Regions from separate parts of the Homo sapiens genome. Here region 1 is linked to region 2. The links are contacts of gene promoters, found by promoter capture Hi-C in human tissues and cell types (Jung and others, 2019). All regions are on one chromosome and are shown on one strand. Each heading gives the region's core, a stretch centred on a gene start or on the middle of the fragment in contact. The rest is flanking DNA. Distances are from core to core; before and after follow the strand shown. Region 1 has its middle 81 kb from the start of VASH1. Region 2 holds the start of VASH1 (vasohibin 1).

Region 1 (7,562 bases), core at 685-3,184, 79 kb after region 2:
ATGTTGGTGAGGATGTGGAGGAAAGGGAACCCTTCTCCATTCTTGTGAGAATGTAAATTGGTACAGTCATATGGAAAACAGTACAGAGGTTCCTCAAAAAGTTAACAATATAATTATCATATGATCTAGTATTTCTACCTCTGGATATATATTCATGGAAAATAAAATCACTATATCAAAGAAATATTTGCACTCCTATGTTCACTGCAGCATTATTTATAATAGCCAAGATATGGAAACAAACCAAGTATCCATCAAGGGATGAATGGATTTTTAAAATGTGATATATATATGTATATACATGTACATATATACATATATATATCACATTTTAAATGAAATATATCACATTTAGATGAAATAAGCTAGGCACAGGAAGACAAACGTTGCATGATTTCACTTATACATAAAAAAGTAGAACTCAGAGACACAGAGTACAATGATGGTTTCCAGGAAAGAGGTGGGGGAAATGGGAAATGCTGGTCAAAAGATGCAAATTTGCAGTTATAAGATGAATTAGTTCTAGATACCTAACATATAGCATAGTGACTATAATTAATACTAACATTTTACTTAAATATATACAATTTTTGTCAATCATACCTCTAAAGCTGAAAAAAGGAAAATAAATGGACAGAGAGAAAAGGGATGAATCAAGAAAGCATGTTGTAATCCTTATTGTCAGTAGGACATTAGCAAATAAGACATAAGCAGAAATGTGAACGGCACCTGTGCATTCAGTCTTTCTCTCTTATTGTTCTAGAGACCCTTGCCATGGCTGCCATGTGAAGAAGCCTGTGTTGGCTTGTCTTTCAATGATAGATGTAGGGCTCAATTGTCTCTATGCCCAAAGGGCCAGCCAGGTAAGCATTGGAAACAAGCCATCCAGCTGACCAGCAGCTGGCTGTAGAAGCATGAGTGAGCCCAGCCCACACCAGCAGATGAACCTATTGGCTAAATACAGCCCAGATTATGGATCCACAAAATTCTGAGCTGAACAAATGATTGTTGTTTTAAGCCACTAAATTTTGAGGTGGTTTGTTATACAACATGAGCTGATTGATGGAGAAATTGACACCTATAAGTGGGGTGCTGCTGAACTAAAAACCTGAAACATGAGCCATTGTCTTTAGGACTGAGTGACAGAGGATAGAAAAGCAGCAAGGGAACTATTTCCAAAGCTTGGAAAATTTGCAAATAAACAGTTGTGGAGGCTGGAATGTAATGAGGAAACTGCTCTAGAAGGCTGGGAAATTGAGGATCTGTGTTGAATAGTAGTAACATTTGACAAAGCTGTTGTTGCCCATGGTAACTGTATAATAGAAAATAAATCTAATAAACTTGGACATTGGCAAGGTGATTCCCGGAAGAATGTTGAAAGTGTTTTAGAATGTTTTAGCTGCCTGTGATAAGGTATGGGAAGAGAGAGATCAGCTATAGAAAGAATTGTTCAGTTTGCGACAAGAGTAGCTATAGAGAAGTCATAAAGTAATGGGTTGAAAACCAAAACTACTTCTTAATTCTGGTGTTTCAAGCCAGTAAATTATTTTCAAAGTAAGTAATGGCCTCAGGGTAAAGAATTAAGAGCGTAACTGTGGGATCCTTAGATAAGACCTTGATAAGATTTATGGTGGCTCCTAGTAGATCCTCTCTACTAGATAAAAGGGATTTAGTTTGCCAAAATTAGCAAGAGGCTATCTAGGAAAGAATTTTAAATGTGGCTCTATGGCGTGAAGCTGACCAGAATCAGATAAACTGGAAACCCACAAAGTCTTTATGAGAACTGCATTGGCAAAAGCACTGCTGGCTAGGACTAAAAGGCTTTGAGACAATTTGAAATACTATACTTTAATACAAACTAATTCTAGCTATATGCATTAACACAGATAATGACCAGTTAGGCTTATCGTAAGAATGCAAAGTTGGTTTAATGTTAGACCACTGAATAAGGTAATGCATTATAGTAACAGATTAAAGGTGGAATAAACATACAATTTTTTTAAGTGAAGAACTGTTGGCAATATTAAAAATTAGATCATGATAAAAAACTTTTAGCAAATGATGGATAGAAGGAATCATCTTTAACCTAACAGAGGGAAATTAATTATATATTTTCAGAAAAGTACAAAGCATACTTAGTGGTAAAATGTTGAAAGCATTCTGTTTAAGGTCAGGAATTAGATGTAAATGTTAGTTACCATCACTTACATACAATATCATATTAGAAGTCTTAATAATTGTGGTAAGATAAGAAAAACATGTATATAAAATTTGAAAAAAAGTTACCACCATTTTCAAATGATACAGATGTCTATAAAAAATACCAAACTTTTTACAGATACAAATTTAGAATTAATAAGAGTATTTAGCACAGTTAATGGACACAAAATCAATATTCAAGCCAATTGCATTCAGCAACAATCCAAGAGTTCCTCTTGCAGGAGACATATTTACCAGGAGTCTTATAGAAGAATTTTCATTGTGTCTTAGTTTATAATAACAAAAATGGAAAAGAATGGAATAGTTATCAATGGTAAAATAGCTCTATACGTTAGGATATGTTCATACAACAGAAAACTACATACCACTAAAAACTAATAAACTGTAACTGTGTATATGAACAGAGATCATTCTCAAAAACATATGGTCAAGTAAAAAAATCATGTCTTAGAATAATAATACTGTATTGTCCCATTTACATAAAATTCAAAACCAGACAAACCAAAAAAGTATGTATTAATAGCTTAGTGACACATATACAGGAAGAAAATTAAAAGTAAAAACGAATGAAAAACAAAACATTTGAGGTCAGAGAGGTACTTCAAAGATGTGGAAGCTGTTCTATTTCTTAGGCTGGGTGGTGGGTTCACAGGTGTTTACTATTTTTAAATGGTACGTATACATCATTTATATTATTTTCTGTATGATACATTGCATAATTTAAAAGTTTTAAGAAATATTTAGTCTATGGGACATTTCCCCTATGAAGCTTTCACAAAACTGACTTTCCATAGGAACAGGTGGGTACGCCTTTTATTTATGTTCCCACAGATTCACCTCTTTTAAAACTTGTAGCAAATTATCCATCACTGTATATTTGTTGGTGTTCCCACCTAAATGGCGAGATCCTTGAAGACAAGAATTGCTTTTGTTATAAATAAAGTTTTGGTGCTGCAAAAGAAATAGCACTTGAATATAAAATTTTCTTTTTTTCTTCTCAGCAAGGCAAATTACTTCTATAGAAGGGTGTGCCCTCACAGATGGAGCAGTGGTGAGTGCACACCCGAACAAGGGAGGGGAAGGGGGGTCTTATTCCTGACACACGTGGCCCCTGCTGCTGTGTCATTCCCCTGTTGGTTAGGGTTAGACCGCATAGGCTAAACTAATTTCGATTGGCTAATTTAAAGAGAGTGACGGGGTGAGTGGTTTGGCAGGAAAAATGATTATGGCAGAGCAGGAAATCGGAATGAGTCAGGGTGGAGAATGAGCAGGTAATCAGAATGAGTCAGGGTGGAGCAGGTGATTGAAAAGGTTGCTTTACGAGGAAGTTAAGTTTAAAAGTAGAAGGCAAAGAATTGAACATACTGACATTGATTCTTTGAAGAGAAATTTAGAACTCATGTCTAACAATTTTCTTATCTATCTTAGTATCCTTGGCACTTAGCACATGGTCTGGTTAATAGTATGTGCTAATAAAGATTTCTTTTAGGGTGATGAGGGGATTAATTGTTGCTGAAAAGTAGTAAACCATACATATCCTCATGCACATGCATATACACAGCTTATTTTCTTTTCAGATTTGTCTTATATTACAGTCTAGTAATTTTCCAAATCTTGGTTTTTGTTTTTTTTTTTTGAGATGGAGTTTCCCTCTGTTACCCAAGATGGAGTGCAGTGGTGCGGTTTCAGCTTACTGCAGCCTCTGCCTCCCAGGTTCAGGAGATTGTCGTGCCTCAGCCTCCGGAATAGCTGATATTACAGGAAAGGGGTCTCAATCCAGACCACAAGAGAGGGTTCTTCAATCACGCACAAGAAAGAATTCAGGGCGAGTCCACAGTGCAAAGCAAAAGTGAGTTTATTAAGAAAGTAAAATGGTGAAAGTGTTACAGGAAAGGAGTCCCAATCTACATCCCAAGAAAGGGTTCTTGGATCTCGCACAAGAAAGAATTCAGGGTGAGTCTGCAGTGCAAAGTGAAAGCAAGTTTATTAAGAAAGTAAAGGAATAAAAGAATGGCTACTCCATAGACAGAGCAGCCCCGAGGGCTGCTGGTTGCCCATTTTTATGATTATTTCTTGGTGATATGCTAAACAAGGGGTGGATTGTTCATGCCTCCGCTTTTTAGACAATACAAGGTAACTTCCTGATGTTGCCATGGCGTTTGTAAACTGTCATGGTGCTGATGGGAGTGTAGCAGTGAGGACATACAGAGGTCACTCTCGTGGCCATTTTGGTTTGGTGGGTTTTGGCCGGCTCCTTTACTGCAAACTGTATTATCAGCAAGGTCTGTATGGACCTCTATTTTGTGTTGACCTCCTATCTCATCCTGTGACTTAGAATGCCTTACCCATCTGGGAATGCAGCCCAATAGGTTTCAGCCTTATTTTACCCAGCTCCTATTCAAGATGGAGTTGCTCTGGTTCACACACCTCTGAGAAAAGAACAGCTAGAGTAGGGCATTCCCGAAAGTAAGAGGAGGAACACGTCCACCCTAGGTACAATGCTTGTATATATAGGATAAAAAAGATCCTGGGGAGATGTGCTCTGCTACAAGGGTTTGTGATAGAGGATTAATTTTCTTAATGACAATATTTTGCAAGAATCGATATTATCATATTATCTTTAAAGCAAAATTAGGAATGTCTTTGTTCCCAAGGTATCAGGATATTAGGATACTCTCAAGTCTGAGTCTGTTTAGTAAACATGATCAATTTGTTCCTTTAACTGTAAGCATCTAGAGTTTAGGAATACCTAACTTTCTGGGAATGCGGCCCAGCAAGTCCCAGTCTCATTTTCCTAGCCCTCACTCAAGATGGAGTCGCTGTGGTTCGAACACCTCTAACATTAGGATTACAGGCCTCCACCACCACACCCAGCTAATTTTATATTTTTAGTAGAGATGGGGTTTCACCATGTTGGTCAGGCTGGTCTCTAACTCCTGACCTCAAGTGATCCACCCACCTTGGCCTCCCAAAGTGCTGGGATTACAGGTGTGAGCCACCATGCATGGCCTCAACTCTTGTTTTTATCATAATATTTTCTTAAATTCAGAGTTTTCTGGTGTGTGTGTGTGTGTGCACGTGTGTGTGTGTGTGCACGTGTGTGTGTATACACCTGCATGCATGCATACAAAGGCTGAGGAAAGGAGATTGGAGGGGATGAGTGGGGAGAGTGTACAGAGGAAAAGGAGAAGGTGTAGATATTCAAAAGCAAATAATCCCGTTTTCCAGAGTAAAAGCCAGTCTTAGCAAAGCGGGGGTGTAGGTAATGTTAAACAGACCCTTGGAATTCCCCTCAGTTTGTCTTTTGGTCCCTTCCTGCCCCCTACTCTAGCCCTGCTCCCCACCCCCACCTTTCTTGTCTTGTATCTCACTCTCAAAAGACTGACATGTAAATTTCTTTTTAGATGTCAGTTGAGACCTAATGTACTCCTCCCTCATGGACATTTTCTTTTCAACAGGGGACCCCCTAAGGCGGAAAAGCTTGTAAAACTCAAGAAACACAACTCCAAAGTGCTATTTTAGGCACTGTAACAGATTGATGCAGAAAAAAAAAAAAAGAAAGATTTCACTGAAAAGTATCTCCATTTCTGGTTTTTCTTTTTCTTTCTTTCTTTTTTTGGGACATAGTCTCACTTTAGTCGCCCAGGCTAGAGTGCAATGGTGCAATCTTGGCTCACTGCAACCTCCGCCTCCTGGCTTTAAGCCATTCTCCTGCCTGAGCCTCCTAAGTAATTGGGATTACAGGCGCCCGCCACTATGCCTGGTTATTTTCTTTTTCTTTTTTTTTTTTTCTTTTTTTTTTGTATTTTTAGTGGTGATGGGGTTTCACCATGTTGGCCAGGCTGGTCTTGAACTCCTGACCTCAGGTGATCCCCCCAACCTCGGCCTCCCAAAGTGCTGTGATTACAGGCGTGAGCCACCGCGCCTGGCCCATTTCTGGATTTTCTCGGAGATAGGATGCTATGGCCTCACTGTGCCCATCTTCCTATATGGCAACTATTGCATGGTGCTGGGAAGCAGCCACTCTTAATTTTTTTGGTTTGTTTTTCATTTTTTATTTTTATTTTAGTTTTTTGAGACATGGTCTCCCTCTGTTTCTCAGGCTGGCCCTTTAAACAGGCTGTCATTCTGAAGCTCTTCCCGGTCCCTGTGACTCGCTTCATTCAAATGCATCATCTGTCTGTTGGAGTTGGTGAGGCCTTGCTCTACAGCATGCATGAAGTGTAGGAGGGATGAAAAAGGAGAAAGTGCATCCAAGAGAGCTCTGTGCCATGCAAGAAGCTCTTACAGATTTTCTTAAGGGGACTTGTAATTAAAAAACAACTTCAGTGATTCACTGATTGCTGTACACTGTTGAAAGGGATCACAGAAGATTGCTTGTGGGTGTGGTAATAAAGATGTTAATGGTGATGATGGTGGTGATGATGGTGAAGGCTGTCCTTGCATTGCTATAAAGAAATCCCTGAGACTGGATTATTTATAAGAAAAGAGGTTTAATTGGCTCACGGTTCTGCAGGCTATACAGGAAGCATAGTGCTGGCATCCACTTCTGGGGGGGCCTCCGGAAGCTTTCAAATATGGTGGAAGTCACATGGTGAAAGCAGGAGTGAGAGACAGAGCAAGAGAGTGAGAGAATGAGACACCACACACTTTTAAACAGCCAGATCTCAGGAGAACTCACTCACTACCTGGCAGACAGCACCAGAGGAATGGCGCTAAACCATTCATGAGAAATTCACCTCCAAAGTCCAGTCACCTCCCACCAGGCCCCACCTGCAATACGAGGGGTTACAATTCAACATGAGATTTGGGAAGAGACACAGATACATATTCCAAACTATATCAGTGGTGGTGGTGATGATGATGGTGATGAGGATGGTGTAATGATGATGAGAATGATGATGACGATGGCTGTGATGATGATGACAGCTACATCCAGTACCAGGCTCTGTGATGGGCACTTTAGATGCTTTGTCTCTAGTCGTTAGAACAACCTTACAAAGTAGGTGGAATTATTACCATTTTACAGTAGAGAAAATTGAGGATCCAGGGAGTTACGTACATCAAGAGCCCCACACTTGGGATGTCTCCAGACACACTTTTACAGTCACAGAATTCCTCTATCGATAAGAATTTTTTTGAGCATGCATGTGCCTCCTTTTCCGTCTATTTATCCATAAAGCATAAATTAGTACCGTGATTGTTAGTTAATATCTCAAGACACAGAATATGCCCAGGGCAAAGTTTACTGTGAATAATAGTGGATGTAAATCCACATTTCAAATAGTCTTCTTGATAATTTTTTACTCTTTTTTTGGGGGGGAGTGGGTGGCAGTTGCTTG
Region 2 (7,495 bases), core at 4,063-6,562:
TAATCCCAGCAACGTTACCCTTTTAGAGGAGATGTCCAGGCTGGGTGTAGTAGCTCCTGCCTGTAATCCCAGCACTTTGGGAGGCTGAGGCGGGAGGATGGCTTGAGCCCAGGAGTTTGAGACCAGCCTGGGCAATATAGAGAGACCCCATCTCAACCAAAAAATAAAAAAATTAGCCAGGCATGGTAGGGCACACCGGTAGCCCCAGCTACTCTGGAGGCTGAGGTGGGAGGATCACTTGAGCCCAGAAGGTAGAGGCTGCTGTGAGCCATGACTGTGCCACTGCATTCCATCTTAGGTGACCAAGCGAGACGCTGTCTCATAAATAAATCAAAGGAAAGCACTCTGGAGTCATAATAAGTAGCTAGAGGAGATGTCCAAATTCCCATTCTGCAGGAGCTCTGTGGCCTGAGCCATAAGAGACCATAAAAGACCTTCAGCAGCTGGGTCTGGGGTCAGTGGCCACTAAGCTTTTAAAGGGGGTGGAAGCCTGAAACATCAAGGACAGACTCTTATCAAGGAGCCTAAGCTGTTGCTGGATTTGGGATCTTTCTAGAAATTGTTGCCCTATAACATACTGGCATCATCCCTGTAAAGGCTGCTTCTCCAAAGCGCTAGTGGGGTGTCGATGAACACTCACTCCCTGCTCCATTACTGGGTATCTATTAGAGGCACTTAATGAAGCATCACATGCTTTGCATCATTAATTCCTCTAACATCCTCTTGATGGGCATTGCTATTAGCTCCATTTCACAGCTGCGGAAAACTGAGGCACAAGAAAGTTGCCTGTCTTCCTCATATAAGTAGTTATGGGAGATCAAGGATTTGAACATGGTAGCTTTGACTCCAGAGTGCTCTCCTTTTATGACACCAGCCTGCAGGGGTCCCAGACTCAACCACATGCAGGGGCCGGGCAAGTAACATACACGGGGCAGGCAGGCCTGGTAGGTGAGTGGTGGAGACAGTGGCAAGATGGGGGAGTAGGACTCACTCCCCAGCCCCAGCTGACAGCTGCCACGTGGGACTGCAGATTCCCATGTGTTCCCAAGTCTTCTTATTTTCTGAAAAGATGCCAAAACTCTGGATCTTTATGTGAGAAATCTCCCAATTTTCCCAACAAAACACTTCTTGAGCCCCACACTGTGTGGCCGCTGTAGGGAATGACCCTGTGCCAGCTCCAGTGGCATGGCCCCTAGGGATGGTAAGGGCGGGGTCAGCCCACCCTGCCACTGGCACCCTGGCACCCAGGCACCCAACCCACGCTGCTTCTCTCCAAGGCCTCCTGGACTCCACTGCACTCCCAGACTCTAAGGGTACCTTTCTACTCAGAGCCCAGGTAGAGGAGGGACCTCATGCAGACTCATGCGATTTATCTGAGATCTGTGGTTTGAAGAGGGGGAGGTTCAAATTTTTCCAAACCTCTCACAAAATTCCTTCTACCCTAGCGATGGAAGTCTAGGGGTCTGTCACAACACAGCCCCCACCCCTAGACTTCCTTCATCCGTGTCTTTCCTGTACATGAGGACTGAAGATGACAGAATGACATTACAGACCAGTTACTAGTGAGCTCACTATTTCTTTTTTAGTTCCCAGGAGTGGTGGCAGTTCTGCAGGGAACCATTCACACTCTTTTATGGCCTGATTTAGACATAAGCAAGATGGCTGGAGAGCTGCCCGACTTGTTCACGTGGGAGCAGGGTGTGACTCTGGCCTCATCGGGACAAATGATCTGAGCAAAACCCAGTCTTGCCGCTTGATAAAGCACATAAGTAAAGGTGATGGATGTCTGGCCGGGCGTGGTGGTTCACGCCTGTAATCCCAGCACTTTGGGAGGCTGAGGTGGGTGGATTACCTGAGGTCTGGAGTTTGAGACCAGCCTGGCCAAAATGTTGAAAATGAAACCCCATCTCTACCAAAAATACAAAAATTAGCCAGGTGTGGTGGTAGGTGCCTACAATCCCAGATACTCAGGAGGCTGAGGCAGGAGAATCACTTGAACCAGGGAGGTGGAGGCTGCAGTGAGCCAAGATCATGCCACTGCACTCCAGCCTGGTGGAAAGAGTGAGACTCCATCTCAAAAAAAAAAAAAAAAGGTAACTGATATCCAATAACCAGGTACTGGTTTGGGGCTTTACAGTTTGTTAAATACTTTAACACACAGTCTCTCATTTCTTCCCCACAATCAACCTCATCTTATTGATAAGAAAACTGCATCTCAAATAGGTGGAAGAGGCCATATAGATAAGCAGGTGACCCCTACCAATGTCAATATCCTTTGACGCAATACTTTCGCTTTCAGAATTTTTCCCAAGGAAATAATCAGAGATGAACCCCAAAATTTATATTTTAGAATGTTCACCATAGTATTCATTTTAGGAATAAAACTGGAAACAACATCCAACTCTAGGGGATTAGCTAAATAAATATTAAGTCAGTGCAGAGCACATTTATGCGGCCATTCCAAATCAATCTACATTTTGTTTCCCCTGGAAACATTAGGCAGTATTTAAACCTTCAACCTTTGATTCTCTTTTTCCCAGAAGACACTTTCTGATGGCTGTACCAATAACTTGGTAAAAACAAAACGGGCCACTTGTCCTCATGTCTAATTCACACTAACTTCCATTCTTCCTAGCCCCCTTCCTTCCAACCTGGGCAGGCAGGGCTAAGCACTGGGCTCTGAACTCAGTCCAAAGGGCTCTTTTTTGGAGATTTCAGGCCTCTGCATTTGGCAAAGTGCCTCCTAGTCTTGATCATGTTTTTTTTTTTTTTAATATCTGGCATGTATTTCCATATAGCAGCGTACAGCACAGAAACTCTCAAATACCCTTTCATTCAGCAAACACACACACTAGTGCCTGTTCTGTGCCAGGCACACAGGAGGCCTTGGGAAGACAAAGATGAATGAGATACAGCCTCTGTTTTCGTTGGTGACACAACTGAAGTATAGCTGTCATGGAGGAGGAGTTACAGCCAACACAGAAAAATTATTTCATTTTATGCTTCTCCATAAGACCTCTTCTAATGTGCTTGAATCTACTGTCCAACAGAGAAGAGGACCTGGACACTTCCCTCCACCACCACCCCCCGCCCTTCTCCTGAAGACCTGAAATTGAATCTCAGTTCTGCCACTTACTGGCTGTGGGATCTTGAGTTCCTACTTGAGTTTTCAGCTTTCTCATCTGTAAAATGGGAATCCAAACTGTACTTACGTCACAAGGCTGTTGGGAGAATTCAATGACATAATGCACGAAAATATTTTCTCAACATATGAAGCCCTGCATCTCCTTAGTCATTCATTACATTTGTCTGCTCACAGTTCTCTGGCTTGGCAAGTGTCATCAAGCAAATGAGACGTCAAGCCATCCTACTGTGTTTGTTAGTTCCATCTGCTGCTGTCCCCTCCTGTAAAACGTGGACATTTTAAAAGACAGCGGGGAGGGCCTCCTGGAGACAATGTATGTGAGCCTCCCTCCTAGAATGGCAGTGAGAGAAAGTTCTCCTAGACAGGTATGATATCACTGCATTTTAAAGATCTTACCGAGCCAGTGGTCCCCTGCCCCGTGGGAGGAGAGTGTGGCTTCACTCTTGGCCCCAAGGTCACTAAAACCTAGACTGTGCTATCACCCCCCTGACCCGTGTGTCTCACCTTGGGCAGGTCTGTGGCCCCACGGATCCGTTGCGCCACCTTCTCTCCATCGGGGTGGATCTTGGCCACGTGTTTCCACATCCTTTCCCAGGTGGCCTCATCCACAGGTAGCCCACCCCGGTTGACAAAGAAGGGGACGCCTCCGTCTCGCAGGTCCTCTTCCCCTTCCTCTTCTGGCTCCTCATCTCTCTGGGCTGAGGTTCCTTCGCTGGTCTCCAAACGCCTGACCCCAGAGGGGGCGGTGGCCGCAGCGGACGTTGGAGTGGCACCGCTGCTGCCACCCCCAGCCACCTTCTTCCCCCCTGGCATCCCTAAATCTTCGAGGGGGGTGGTGGAGGCGGGAAAACAACTGGCTCACAAGAGGCCTCCCACACACCGGCTGCAGAGATAACACATGGCCAGAGTGCAAGGCGCCTTTAAGAAATCAGGGCGTGGCTCCTGTACAATAAAATACGACTTGATAAAAAAAATCAGTGCAATAAGGTGAATTAGGGTCCGAGGGGGTGGGTTGTCTGGGGTCAGCCTTGGAGGCCTTGTTCTGTTTGAAAAACGGAATAAAGAGAACACACCCCAACTTGGCAGCCGTCACAAAGCACCCCCATCTAACTGCGAGAACAATGACGGGCAGCAGTGAGGGCTGGCAGAGCGGAGAAAAGTCGGAGGGAAACTGAGGCCAGACAGCTCGGACCAGCGGCTGCAGAAAGGACAGAGTCAAGGCACGGGTGCCCACTGGGCGCCCTGGGTCTCAGTTTCGGAGGGAACAAAATCCCCTACACAACTCTCGCACGCTCACATCTGCGCGCGCCCCAAGGAAGACCGAGGCGACTCCCGGCCGCGCGAGCTCGGAACCAAGACCCCCGGGCGGGAGAGCGGCGCTGGGGGGCGATTTCTCCGACGCGACGAGACAAGTCCGGGAGCCAAGACTCGCAGCTGGCCGGGAGCGGGGAGGGGGCGCGCGCCGACGCGCACATTCCCCGCCTGCGGCCAACTCCCTGCACAAAGTGGGCTTTGTCTGGGTCCCCTGTCCCCTCGTCCCCAGAAACAGCGGCGGAGTCCCCAGAAAGGGAGCGGGCGCGGCGGGGAGGCGAAGGCTGCGAGCCCCGAGGCCCAGCGGGTCCCCACTCGGGCGCGTCTCAGCGGGAGGACGGCTGGCACCTGGCGCCGCGCTGCACCAGCCGAGCCATCGCAGGGCACGGGGCCCGCGGCTCAGCGGGACCGGCTCGGGCGGCGCGCAGGGGCCAGGCTGAGGTCACTGAGCGGCGGGCTGCGGCCGCGGGGTCGCTGCCTGGGACTGGCTGCAGCATGGGCGGTGGCGCGGCCCGGGCGGGCGGAGGATGCTCCGTGGCTGTTCGCTCGGGCTGCAGCTGCCCTGGCTGAGGGTGGAGGAAGGACCGCGGGGCGGGGACCGCAAGCCCGGAGGCTCGCGCAGCCTCGGCCGGCGGATGTAGCTGGAGGCGAGTGACGAAGCCGGGCGAGCGCGCGCTGCGCTGGTGCCTGGGGAGCAGCCCGCCAACGCGGAGCCCGCCAACGAGAAGCCCACCAGCCGATCGCTGCTCGGCGAAGCTGGGGCCGCCGCTGCTGCAGCCCCGCCGCCCCTGGGCCCCGCTGCCGCCGACCACGTCCCCTGCCAGCCAGCCGCCCACCAGGCTCGACTACGGCCCGCGCCGCGCATGCGCTCCGTCCCCCCCTTAAAGGGCCAGCGCCTTCGCGCCCAGTCCTCCGCCCCCCGCGGCGGTGCCTCTGTCCCAAGTTACCCCAAGGACGCCGGTGGGCATTCGCTCCCTCCTCACCCAGCTGTCAGGGCGCCGCGAAGCCGGTGCGAAGCTGCGGAGGACGTTTTCAACGTGCCAGAGGGAGCGCAAACTCCATGGAGATTCCTAGCGCAGAAGGAATTCCTGCGGTCGGGAATTTCTTGAAAAAGATTCTTCGCAGGGGCCCTGAGCCGGTAGGACCGAGAGCACTGGCCTGGAAGACTGGGATTCTAGACCGGATTCAGTGCCTGTGTTGCTTTGGGACGTTCAGCAGTTCCCTTCCCTCTGTAGGCCTCAGTTTCCCCATATCCCAGCCGAGGTGGTCACAGTGAGTGAGCGCAGAGTCCCTCCCAGCGCGCACAGTTCTTAGAGGAGGACATCTAGGGATTGAGACGGGGGGTCACTATCTCTGGAAACGAAAAGGGTTAAAAGTCACCCTGTTTTATTCGATTGCCTGCACTGGTGGGAATGGGGTGCGCAGAGCTCACCCCTAGACCATCTGCCTAGACCGGGCTTTGGACGCTCTGGACCCCGCGGACCAGGGTGGGACCGCGACGTGGGCGTGGGAGGCAATGCTTGGGGAGGGTCCGCTGGCCTAGAGGAAGGTGAAAGTACAACCAGCTGTGGTGCGTGGTTGGACACTGGACGCACCCTCCGCCTCCCTCATGCCATAGAGTTGTAAATGGTGGGAAAGGCACTATCTCTAGGCTGAAGCCAAGAACTTTAGGAAGAGACGGCCGAGTGTGTGCTTTAAGATGCTCCCCCTCTCCCCTGCCTGTAGTTAGCATGAATCACAGTCTTGTGGGAGAATGCAGATTCCTTGGCCTTAGCCGGCAGATTCAGATTCCTTAGTTGTGGGGTCGTTGCATTTCTTGACAAGCTGAGGTTACTACACAAGGGCTGGGTTAAAGGCCTTAGAGAGACCCCAGGGCCTCAGTGGTTTCACATCTGTTCTCTAAAGCTGTCCCTAGTATCTGAACTTTCTGGGTACCCTGTGCTCCCGTAGCAACCTCTTACTACCTCCAGGGTCAGAAACCAAGGGTTATCAGTGATGGGAAGGATTGCAAGACTCCAAGAAAGTTAGTTCAGCCTGGATCTTCTTAAACTCACTAAGGCAAGAAGACTCCAAGCGTAGAAAAATCACTAGGGATCAACAACTATCACCCTGTATTGTATAAACCAAGTCTCAGAGGGTAATTTCCCCAAACTCACACAGCTAGTAAGTGGCAGAGCTAGAATGTGAACAGAAGTCTTACTTCTTCAGACACTTGTTTTTCACTCTATACATTGCTTCTTGTGTTAGCCAAGTGGTGCTGGTTTTAAAATTGGCTTGCAAGCTCTTGACCATTCTTTTCAAAAGATGGGATCTAATTCCTTTCCCCCTGAATGTGGGATGTACTTGGTGACTGGTGTCTAATGAATAAAGTGTGATGAAAGTGAAGCTGTATGACTCTTAAGACCAGGCCATAAAAAGGAGACAGCTTCTTCTTGGTTCCTCAGAAGAAACCAGCTACCATGTTGTGAAGAAGCCCAAGCCACATGGTGAGGCCACATGAGGGTGTTCTCGCTGACAGCTGCTGCTGGGCTCTCAGCCAACAGCCAGAGTCAATCACCAGATCATGGCAAACCGAGACTTCAGGTCTTGCCAGCCCTCGGCCTTTAAGTCTTAGAGTTGAGGTCCCAGACATGGAGCAGAGAACAACCAGCCCTGCTGTGCCCTGTCTGACTTTCTGTCCCACAGAAATTGAGAGAGGATAAGTGACTATTCTCGTTTTAAGCTGCTAAGTTTTGGACTAACTTGTTACGCAGCATGAGATAATACCATGTGTTTTCTGAAATGACAAATAAAATAGATGTAGGGTATTCATTCAAAGAGTAAGTACTCATAGAACATCTTCTATGTGTTTGACTCTGTACTGGGCACTGGAGAAGCAGTAGTGAACAAGAGGGACATGGCCTTTGCTCTAGTTGGACTTATGGCCTACTAGTGGAGGAGATAGTTAAGCATGATTTCCATAAGGTGCTCTGCCAGAGGGTTATTCAGGAAGCTGTGGGAGTGCATACCCAGAGCAACTTCCCAATCAGGTGAGGAGCT

The links. Contacts are between HindIII fragments. The study calls those that stand out against the background at their distance.
Region 1: a fragment that was not itself captured here is called in contact with the fragment with the promoter of VASH1 in region 2 in 3 of the 25 tissues and cell types used here (H1 embryonic stem cells, lymphoblastoid cells and mesenchymal stem cells).

The regions. Positions count from the first base shown.
Region 1 is chr14:76,676,782-76,684,343 of GRCh38, reverse strand. No RefSeq gene overlaps it. Among named protein-coding and RNA genes, the nearest start is that of VASH1, 81 kb to the left of the region's middle. The HindIII fragment of the contact is 4,823 bases long and covers 1-4,345 here.
Region 2 is chr14:76,759,285-76,766,779 of GRCh38, reverse strand. VASH1 (vasohibin 1) reads right to left here and starts at 5,312. Exons shown (of 7, transcript NM_014909.5): 1 at 3,650-5,312. The coding sequence starts at 3,958. RefSeq lists silencers at 4,786-5,055, 5,156-5,345. The HindIII fragment of the contact is 11,814 bases long and covers 1-7,495 here.